Linked DNA regions of Homo sapiens: region 1 is linked to region 2. The links are contacts of gene promoters, found by promoter capture Hi-C in blood cells and fetal thymus (Javierre and others, 2016). All regions are on one chromosome and are shown on one strand. Each heading gives the region's core, a stretch centred on a gene start or on the middle of the fragment in contact. The rest is flanking DNA. Distances are from core to core; before and after follow the strand shown. Region 1 overlaps MAP3K1 (mitogen-activated protein kinase kinase kinase 1). Region 2 holds the start of DHX29 (DExH-box helicase 29).

Evidence for each region. Contacts are between HindIII fragments. The CHiCAGO score rates a contact against its expected background, and 5 or more counts as called.
Region 1: a contact is called between a fragment that was not itself captured here and the fragment with the promoter of DHX29 in region 2, in 1 of 17 cell types (fetal thymus). The highest score is 9.9, in fetal thymus.

What each region holds. Positions count from the first base shown.
Region 1 is chr5:56,821,008-56,825,692 of GRCh38, forward strand. All of the region lies in intron 1 of MAP3K1 (mitogen-activated protein kinase kinase kinase 1), which reads left to right. Among named protein-coding and RNA genes, the nearest start is that of MAP3K1, 7.8 kb to the left of the region's middle. RefSeq lists an enhancer at 4,357-4,685. The HindIII fragment of the contact is 1,877 bases long and covers 520-2,396 here.
Region 2 is chr5:55,305,891-55,310,983 of GRCh38, forward strand. It overlaps DHX29 (DExH-box helicase 29), which reads right to left and starts at 1,804. Exons shown (of 27, transcript NM_019030.4): 1 at 1,497-1,804. The coding sequence starts at 1,683. It overlaps MTREX (Mtr4 exosome RNA helicase), which reads left to right and starts at 2,099. Exons shown (of 27, transcript NM_015360.5): 1 at 2,099-2,257. The coding sequence starts at 2,124. LOC124900979 (a long non-coding RNA gene) reads right to left here. Exons shown (of 2, transcript XR_007058774.1): 2 at 2,259-2,547. RefSeq lists enhancers at 1,473-1,732, 1,873-2,352. The HindIII fragment of the contact is 7,705 bases long and covers 1-4,054 here.

The DNA.
Region 1 (4,685 bases), core at 208-2,707, 1.5 Mb after region 2:
CAAGAAATTCAACATCTGCTACTGCTAGTTCTGAAATTCTGTCTTTATTATTAGTAACAGCAACTCTACTAGTTACGAAAACAACATGGAGAAATATAAAATATTCTTTAGGGCATAAGATGATCAAGAAGATAGCCTTGTCTTTATTTACTCTATGGCATGTCATTGGTGATTGAGTTATGTTTGGTATGGAAGGGAGTTCTGTATTGTTAGTGATTGAGTCCTTTGGAATACCAGGCTGGTTTGATGCAGATGTTAATTTGATCGAGATGTGGAGATGTTGTAGCATACTAAGGGGAATTGTTAAAACTCACCAAGTGTATAATTCTGCAAGTACACATCTGTCACCTGGGAATTACTAAGCCACCAGACCTCTTGAAGCCTGGAGAAAGTGCTTGGAGCCACATGGGACAGCCTACACAGTACTGTAGTTAGTACGTTAACTAAGTTCATCACTTGTAAGCATAATGATGGATAGACATGGAGTGAGAACAGGGTCAGTACTGGGGTGTAGGTGGAAGCTTTGCTCTTGACAGATGTTATCATTACTTTTCTTTTTTTATTTTTAAATTAGAAATGGGTTCTCACTATGTTGCCCAGGCTGGAATCGAACTCCTGGGCTCAGGTGATCTTTCCACATAGCTGGAACTATGGGTGCAAGCCACTGTGTCTGGCTTTACTTTTCTTCATTGCCTAAACAATAATTTAAGTTATATGTTAACACATAATCTTCAAACTGGTCTTATGGTATTCTGAATACTAAACATCAGTTGTTAACAGACCAGGAACTTTATCTGATTCTTTGCACCATCTCCCAGCATCTAGACTAGTGTCTGGCACCCATGAATATTAGGTACCCAGAAATGTTAACATGAATTAATTTTCCAAAAGTGGTTAAATTAGTATATCTGAAGATTAACTTACTGTAGTGAGATTTTAATCATGATCTAGCTTAAGACGAGTTTTGAAGGCAAGAACTGTCTTTTTTTAGGAGTTTTTGTATATCGTTTGGTATTTATTTATTTATTTTTGAGACGGAGTCTTGCTCTGTTGCCCAGGCTGGAGTGCAGTGGCGCAATCTTTGCTCACTGCAGCCTCTGCCTCCTAGGTTCAAGCAATTCTCCTGCCTAGCCTCCCGAGTAGCTTGCTGGGATTACAGGCATGCCCCACTATGCCCAGTTAATTTTTGTATTTTTTTGTAGAGACAGGGTTTCACCATGTTGGCCAGGCTGGTCTTGAACTCCTGACCTCAAGTGATCCACCCACCTTGGCCTCCCAAAGTGCTGGGATTACAGAAATGAGCCACTGCGGCCAGACCATTGCTTGATGTTTAATAGCAGTAGTTGGCATTTAGCAAGCAGTCATTGATAATATTGACCAATTTTATGTAATGTGAGCCTTCTAATAATTAGTGTAGTTACAAAATAATTGGAGCCATGCTCAAACTGTCAAATATTGAGAAAACTGAATTCCTGGTATTTGAAAGTGTCTAATTATTTGCGTTAATTGGTAAGCCCCTCCTGATTTTCTACTTAACCATGACACTTCTTCCGTGGCGCCCATCTTCATTCTCTTGAACATTGATACTGGAAGATTCCCAGGGTGGTCCTAGGCCTTCTCTCATTCTGTCTTGTCGATCCCCACCCCAGTCTTATTAATGCCCTTAGATCAGTTATGGACCATTTACAAATGATTGCAGAGTTTATTGTCCTAACCATGATCTCTCCTAAAGTCCAGACCTACACCTGGCTACATGACTTCTGCGCAGTCAGATGTCTAAAACCAAATTAAAGATCTTCCCTAAACCTTCTCCTAACATGTTCCCTGCTCATTAAATGGCAGAACCAGAACCCAGGAGTCACCCTTGACACCTCCTCCTCTCACCTCGTCAGATTCAGACCATCCTTAGGTGCTGGCAGTTTGACCTGTTATCACACCCCTAGCCAGGTGCCCATTGTCTCTCATTTCCACTAACTTAGTGGCCTCCTTGCCTGATCCCTGTGTCCTTTCTCCTTTGCTGTCCGTTCCAATCTGTATTAGGTGGCCAGAGTGATCATTTCCAAATGTAAATCTGATCATAACTTCCTCCCTCCAGAAAAGTAAATGTAATTTAATTTTAAGATGTTCAGATGGCTTCCATTTGGATAAAGACCAGGAAATCTTTAACATGCCTGACCGAGTCCCTGCCCGGTTGGGCCCCTGTCTGCTTCTCCAGGCCCATCTCAGCTCACACTTGCCCTTGTTCCGTGGCAGGGTTGCGTGCTTTCATTTCCTCAGACTCACTCACTGCCTTCTTCTATAGGGCCCTCACATGCTCCCTCTGCCAGGAACACTGTTTTTCCATAAAGTCAGCTCCTCGTTGTTAAAATCTTAACTCATTGACACTTCCTCAGGGAAGCTTTCCCTCATCCACCCAGACTGGCTTTGTAGCAGGGTGTCCCTACTGTCAGTGTTGTGCTTTTACATTTGTTACCTCATTTGATGAATGACTGCCTTCCCCCTAGCACCTAGCAGGATGCCTGGCATAGGGTAGACACTGCATAAATATTTATTGAATAAATGAATGAGAGGGATAATGGCATGGCATGTTCAAATTAGTGGATCCACTGTTTTTCCTGTTTAGTCAGACGTAGTTTAGGACATAGCTGAAAAGGTGTTAAATGGCAAAAGTCTAGACTATGGTGTTTCAACACTGTAGATTTGTGATAGACTCATTCAGAGGTACCTGGACTTGTAGACGTGCCTGGTGGCTCGAGTGAAATAGGACAGCTTAATGTAGTAGAGAGCAAATAGCTATACTGCATGACAACTTTATAGGTAAGAAGAGTCTGCTATGTGTATATAATTATTCTGTACTTAATAGGGAGTTAAGAGTGCGTGTGTGTATATATATGCATTTATATATTCACACATACATCTGTGAATAAATATACACATAAAGGTGTCATGCATTAATATAATTATTCTTATTTTTAAAGTTCTCAGAATGTCATCTAAACTTAAGATATCATTTTTAGAATTCTTATCTGATAACCCTACTTCATCCAAAATTCATTAATTTGATCATAATTCAACTTGGGATAAATAAAAGTTCACATTTCCATTGAAGAAAATATTTGTTAGGCAAGTACTCCATGAGATTGCAGAAGCCAAGAACCCATGTAACAAAACATTTCAAAGTTTACTGTTGGTAAGTAAACCCAGCAGCCTCTCTTATCTAGAACATGGGTTAGCACTAAGAAGTAAGAAAAAATACTCTAAGCAGCCAAAGGACCTGTAACAAAATATGTGCTTTGAAGCACTTTGATTTTACACTTAGTAGAGTTCCCAGGGCATTTGCTCAGGATTGATACTTATTTCAGATGTTGTTCATGCAGTGTTGTTCATGTGGTGTTCCTAACATGCAGCAATTAGAAGCAGCCAGTTAGAAGGGGTGGCGGTGTGAGTCCTGCAAGAGGCAGGTTCCCCAAAGGCAGCAGTGTTGGCACACCTGACAGTGAGAGGAGAGAGGGAGAATAGGACTCAAAACATTGCAGTCGGGGGCCACCTAGCATTGGTACAATTAGTTCCATCTAGGGCAGCCTCTGCCATTTAAAAATATACTCAGTGAAGTGAAGTTGGAAAGCTTGTAATATAGATTAAGGAAAATTACTATCCAAGATAGTTATAGAAAGTGTCTTGATCTTTGAAGTGGTAAACCTCTAACTGTTCTGTAAGATGTATTTCTGTAGCCTTGATGATACTGAATAAATATGTACTTTAGAATTACATAAAAATGGATGCTGCTTACCGAATGTCTTATCTATTATCTGTGTGGAGAAATCTTTTTTGTTATTGTTGACCTGAGTCATTTTATACCTTGCAGTTTCTTTAAAATGCATAATAATCACCACTACCACTAATATACTGATCTTTTCCGGTTTTTTAAAAAAAATTTTTATTTTTTTTTTTGAGACGGAGTCTTAAAGATATTTTTCTTGCTCCAAGGGTCTAGATTCTTCTTTTTTTGTTGTTGTTGAGATGGAGTTTCGCTCTTGTTGCCCAGGCTGGAGTGCAATGGCACAATCTTGGTTCACCACAACCTCCGCCTCCCAGGTTCAGGCAATTCTCCTGCCTCAGCCTCTTGAGTAGCTGGGATTACAGGCGCCTGCCACCACTTCCAACTTTTTAAATTTTTGTATTTTTAGTAGAGACAGGGTTTCACCATGTTGGCCAGGCTGGTCTTGAACTCCTGACCTCAGGTAATCCACCCGCCTCAGCTTCCCAAAGTGCTGAGATTACAGGTGTGAGCCACCATGCCCGGCCAGGTCTAGATTCTTAAATAACCAAATTTCAAGTTTTGTACAAAGATTGAAGGAAAGCTAGTCTTTAACCAGGAAGAAAAGGATTTGTTAAGAGATTATCAGCCGTATCTTTGCTGACTCATTGATACTGTGGTGCCTAAGACATCTTGGCTTTTGTGACAGAATCCTGCATACAACTTTCTCCAGGATAGTTCCTCCAGGAGGGACCCCTCTGCCAGGCACTGTGGCAGTCACATGTCCAGGCTGCATCTCTGCCCTGCTCAGCCTCTTCATCCTTGCATTCAGATCTCCATGTGGTTTAGGGTGCCCATCAGGGTAAACACTGCCATTGTCTCTTTAATTGCTGTGCTCTTACTCTTCTGGCTTTCACACCTTCAGCTT
Region 2 (5,093 bases), core at 554-3,053:
ATAGATGAACACTCCTAGAAGGGCTTTAGGAGTGAACTATACTGTCAAGGATTGACACCTTGAGAAAGGGTCACAGTTTGGGGCTGGAGGAAAGGGAATTCAAAGAATACAACAAATGACTATCGGTTCAAATTCAGAGGAATGTCAGTAAAAGACAAAGGAAAAGTAAAAAAGAGGCTGATCCACAGAATAAAACTGCCATAGTTGTCAGGGAGAAATTCTATGTATTTGTAATTACAAGTATGCTAACTCTGTAGCTAACACTACAATAAATCGCAGGGCAAAGAACTGTTTCCACCTTCTAGGTAAAGGTCTGGTACCTGCCTACTTTTTCAGTCTCATCTCATTTCATCCTTTGGCGATGCTTTATGTTCTGTGAATTCCTCAAGAGCCCCAAGCTCTTTCCTGACTCAAACTTTTTACACATGATGTTCATTACGCCCGCCTGGAATACTAATTTCTGCCATGCTTCACAGAGTTAACTCCTTTTTCATTCTCCTCATCTCAGCTTAACTGTTACATTTCCAGACACCATCCATGATACCTGCTCATCCCGAGAAAAATTAGATTACCCTGTTAAACTGTCTTCCCTGGCTTTTCTTTGTGGCACTTATCTATTATAAGGCTATAAATATGTCTGTGTGCGTTACCTATTAGTTAATACCTATCTCTGACATTAGACTGGCAAGCTCCATGAGGTGATGTCTCTTTTTGCTCATCACATTCCTCACATCTTATCAGACACATACTAAATATTTGCATATATACACATAAATGCTCAGCAAATATTTCTTGAATACTCCAATAAGTACAAGCAAACAACCCGAGAAGAACACAACAGAATGTAATTGTTCATCTTTTGAGCTCAACCGTAATATGTGGCCTGCTCATCTGCAGCAGGAATCGGCCATCTATAAGTTGAGTTGTCAAATCAATTTGTACAGTAAGCAAAACTGCATGGCGGCAGAAACGAGGGCAGACAATTTTACAATAGATTACACGTAACCAGTGTGTAACCAGTGTGTAAGTCCTGTAATTTTTATTAAGTATTGATTTTTCCAGAACGCATGGAGACACTAGATTGTTGCTGAAAATGATATGAAAAACTGACAGAAAATGGGGCTGGCTGGCACCAGGAGGTCAGGAACTCCACTCAGTACTCGTCTTTGCGTTAGCCTAGCTAGCTGAGATGGTGCTCAGGATGAATTCCTGCTGAAACAGGAGCTAATGCAATTATTTTGTTTTTAGAAGGGGGAGAAGTGTGAGTTAAAAGAGAAATGCCAGGCTGCAACAGGGCTACTGTCAGAATTTTGGAGGCCCAAAGAGCTTAGACTTTTTTAATCTAAAACAAGGCCACCCCATGGGGAGGTAGCAGCTCGAGTGTTGGGAAATAGAAATGTTGGGCCCGAAGCTCCTCCCGGGTTCTAAGGCCCTTTCCTCAGGACAAGCAGCAAGGTCTCAGGGCAGACAGCCAGGGGCTGGGGGACCTCTCGTACCTTGCTTGACACGGGGCTCCCTGGAGCCGGCAGCGGCAGCGGCAGCGGTGGCCGGCCTGGACACTGGCTTCTTGCTTTGGGCCTCCCCGGCAATTCCAGCCTCGGCAGATTTGGCTCTGGAAGCAGACACGGCGGCCCGGACCACCGCGGCCGCTGGAGCCTTGTGTTTCTTGTTCTTGCCGCCCATGTTGCAGCTGTGGCAGAAGATCCTTCGCGGCCCAGGCCCCGACGGTACCACTGCACAGCCGAGAGCTCTTCACATTCCCCGGCTCCGGGGCTGCCACCCTGCGCTTCGATCCGGGCTTCTCGGGCCGGGGCGACCGCTGCCTCGCAATTGGTCGAATTCAGCAGGCTCCGCCTCCTTGAGTCGCCAGCTGCCTGCCACACGCCAGGCGCCACGCGCCGCCCTCGCTCTTTATCCACTGAGCAGCTTATCCACTTTAGGTCGGAAAGGAAAGGAAAGAAAAGCAGGAAAAAAAAAAAAAGTCAGGGGAACATTTTTGTCGGCTGCGCGACTCGACTACTTTTGTCTCCTGCGGGCCACTGTTGAGCCTTCACGAGACGTCACTGTCTTCGGTCGCGGGGCATCGTGGGTAGGAGGGAGATTTGCTCTCACTGCTCCCAAAAATGGCGGACGCATTCGGAGATGAGCTGTTCAGCGTGTTCGAGGGCGACTCGACCACTGCGGCGGGAACCAAAAAAGACAAGGAAAAGGACAAGGGGAAATGGAAGGGGCCTCCAGGGTCTGCAGACAAGGCAGGGTAAGGAAGAAGTTCCAGTTGTTGCTTTTATTTTTTTTCTCGGTGGGGAGGAAGAAAACACTACTCTCTTAGGAAGAGCACGAGAAAGTGAAGTGTACATTGAGTGGCGTTGGAAGTGAAGGGGTTCCAGAAAAAAGTTGGAGAGGGTGGAAGAATGTTGGTTCGTGGAAGGGGGGTCTTGGCGTTTCCTGGTGTCTGCAGGCAGCGTGATCTTCTGCTTCAATTCCCTTACGTCGATGTTACTGATTCTGTCCCCATCTTCGCGGTTGTCTCCTGCATCAGCACAACACCTGGCACATAGTCGTTAATAAACAAAACGAATGATTAGTTGAGTAAAAGGTGAAAAGGTTTAGAAAAAATGATATGAATTGATTTGGAGGGGAAAGGGCAGATAATAACATGAGAAGGGAGAGACATTTAATCTCCAAGATGTAGTAGTTTTCTCTTCCGTAAAATGGAGATAATAGTGCCTACCACTGGTGGATATGAGGATTCAATGAGATACACGTGTAAAGTGCCTAACAGTGGTTAGCTAGCTATCACTAATAAATGGTAGCTATCGTGAGTTTATTGAGAAAAAATTTAAAAATTACTGGACCCTACCCATATGTTTAGACTGGTGCATACAGCCACCAGAAAGTGTACAGATCTGTTTATAGTAGAACAAGGAAAAGCTATTACTTGTATTAAATAAAGTAAGATGATTAATTAACAATCAACAAAATATACTCTTGGCATTGTGGGGCCAGATACCCAATAGATGCTTGAAATTAAATTAGACATGATTTTGCTCTCAAGGAATTTTCGGTGTAGGGAAAGAGAACAGGTACCCATTAAAGAGTTACAGTATAGGTGAGGAGGTCGTTAACTTAAAATGAATGATATATACAATTAAGTGTTATAAAAGTTCAAGAAAGGGAGATCCTATTTCTGACTTTCAGGAAGGCTTATTTATATACAAGAGAATATTCTGAGTTAAGGAAATTGTGTTGTTAATGGTGCCAAGTTTGTTTGTTTTTAGGAGCATAAATTGAGCAAGAGGAACTGTTTCATTTAGGGACTACAAGAGATAAGACTGGGAATATACATTGATTTGAGAACATGAGGGGCCTTGAATATCAAGCAGAGGAGTTTTGATTTCATTTTTAAAACCCTGTTGAACAAGGTGATTGGATAAGTAGAATGATAGTTTAGGAAAATTAATTTGGCAGTGGTTGGCAGAGTACTATAATAGTATAGGGAAAGAAGATAGACAGTGAGAAAGTAAATTAGGAAATTATGTTAGTTATCTGGTTGTAAAGATGAAAAGAACCTCAACTCAGGCAGTGGCAGAGGAATGGAAAGGTACGAACATGTTAAGGAAAAAATGGACAGGCCTTCATTAATTAAGGAAAACAAGGGAAAGGAAGTCAAAAGAGATGTTTAATTTGCATGTCAGGGTGAAAAAAACAGGGACGTTCAGAGGTTTTGATATAGTGATAACATTAATTTGGCTTGAGACAATGTGAAGGGATGCTAGTATGTCTGTAGGAAAATGTCCACTGGGTAGTTTTAATAGGGTTTTGGAGAGAGACCAGGACTGGAGGTATATATTTGAATATCATTTGAATTGGTCTCCTTGAGATAGAGATCTCTGTGGGGAAGTAAGTGACACAACACAGAACTTCTGGAGAGGGTACATAAGCCTAAATAAGAGATTAGAGGGATAAGAGAAAATTCTATCAGGAGTGCGAAATGAGTGGAACAAAGTGGAAAAATAGTCTACTCGCATTAAGTTGGATTGGGAGAGTTTGGGGAAGCTTTTCAGAGAAAATAAGAAAGGAGGACCAATTATTTTTATTTCTTTCAAGACAGGAAGTAATAGTTGCTAGAGTGTTTGAATGGGCAACTATGATATTATGAAGACAATACATGTATAATTTACCATGTTAGTATATACTTTACCTCAAATTTGCTAGGATAAAATGAGTTTTATTTGCAGGTTAGTTGGGGTAAGCTGTTTGACAGCCTTCCAAAGTGAAAAGAGGAAATAAAAATCTAATTTACATTTCATTATATTAGGAAATGAATATTAGAGAAAGGAAATAAGAAAACACAGGAGAACGTTAGTAGCTTAAAGGGTTTTGTTTACTACCAACACTTCTAGCAAGGTCTTCTAGATATTTTTAAGAAAAAAATCCTGGCCGGGCGTGGTGGCTCACGCCTCTAATCCCACTTTGGGAGGCGGAGGCTGGCAGATCACCTGAGGTCAAGAGTTCGAGACCAGCTTCACCAACATGGCGAAACCCCATCTCTACTAAAAATACAAAATTTAGCCATGCCTGGTGGCAGGCGCCTGTAATCCCAGCTAGTTGGGAGGCTGAGACAAGAGAATGGCTTGAACCTGGGAGGTGGAGGTTGCAGTGAGCCGAGACTGTGCCACTGCACTCCAGCCTGGGCGACAGAGCTTGACTCCATCTCAAAAAAAAAAAGAGAAAAAATCCTATTTGCCTGATTGCAGTGGCCATACTAACATTATGCATAGTGTGATTCTCATCTGATCTGTGTAACATAGGAGGGCAAATCATGGAACTTCAGAGGAACTTGCCCTTTATTTAGTATTCTAGATCAAGTGGATGCTTTTTAAAAAAATAGTTTCTTTACCTTTTAGAGATGGGGTCTCATTTTCTCACCCAGGCTGGAGTGCACTGGTGCTTAGCAGCTTATGGTAACCTCGAACTCCTGGCCTCAAGCATTCCTCCCACCTCAGCCTCCTGAATAGCTAGAAGTACAGGTACACACCACCATATCGGGCTAATTTTAAAAATGTTTTGTAGAGACGGGTGTCTCATAGTAT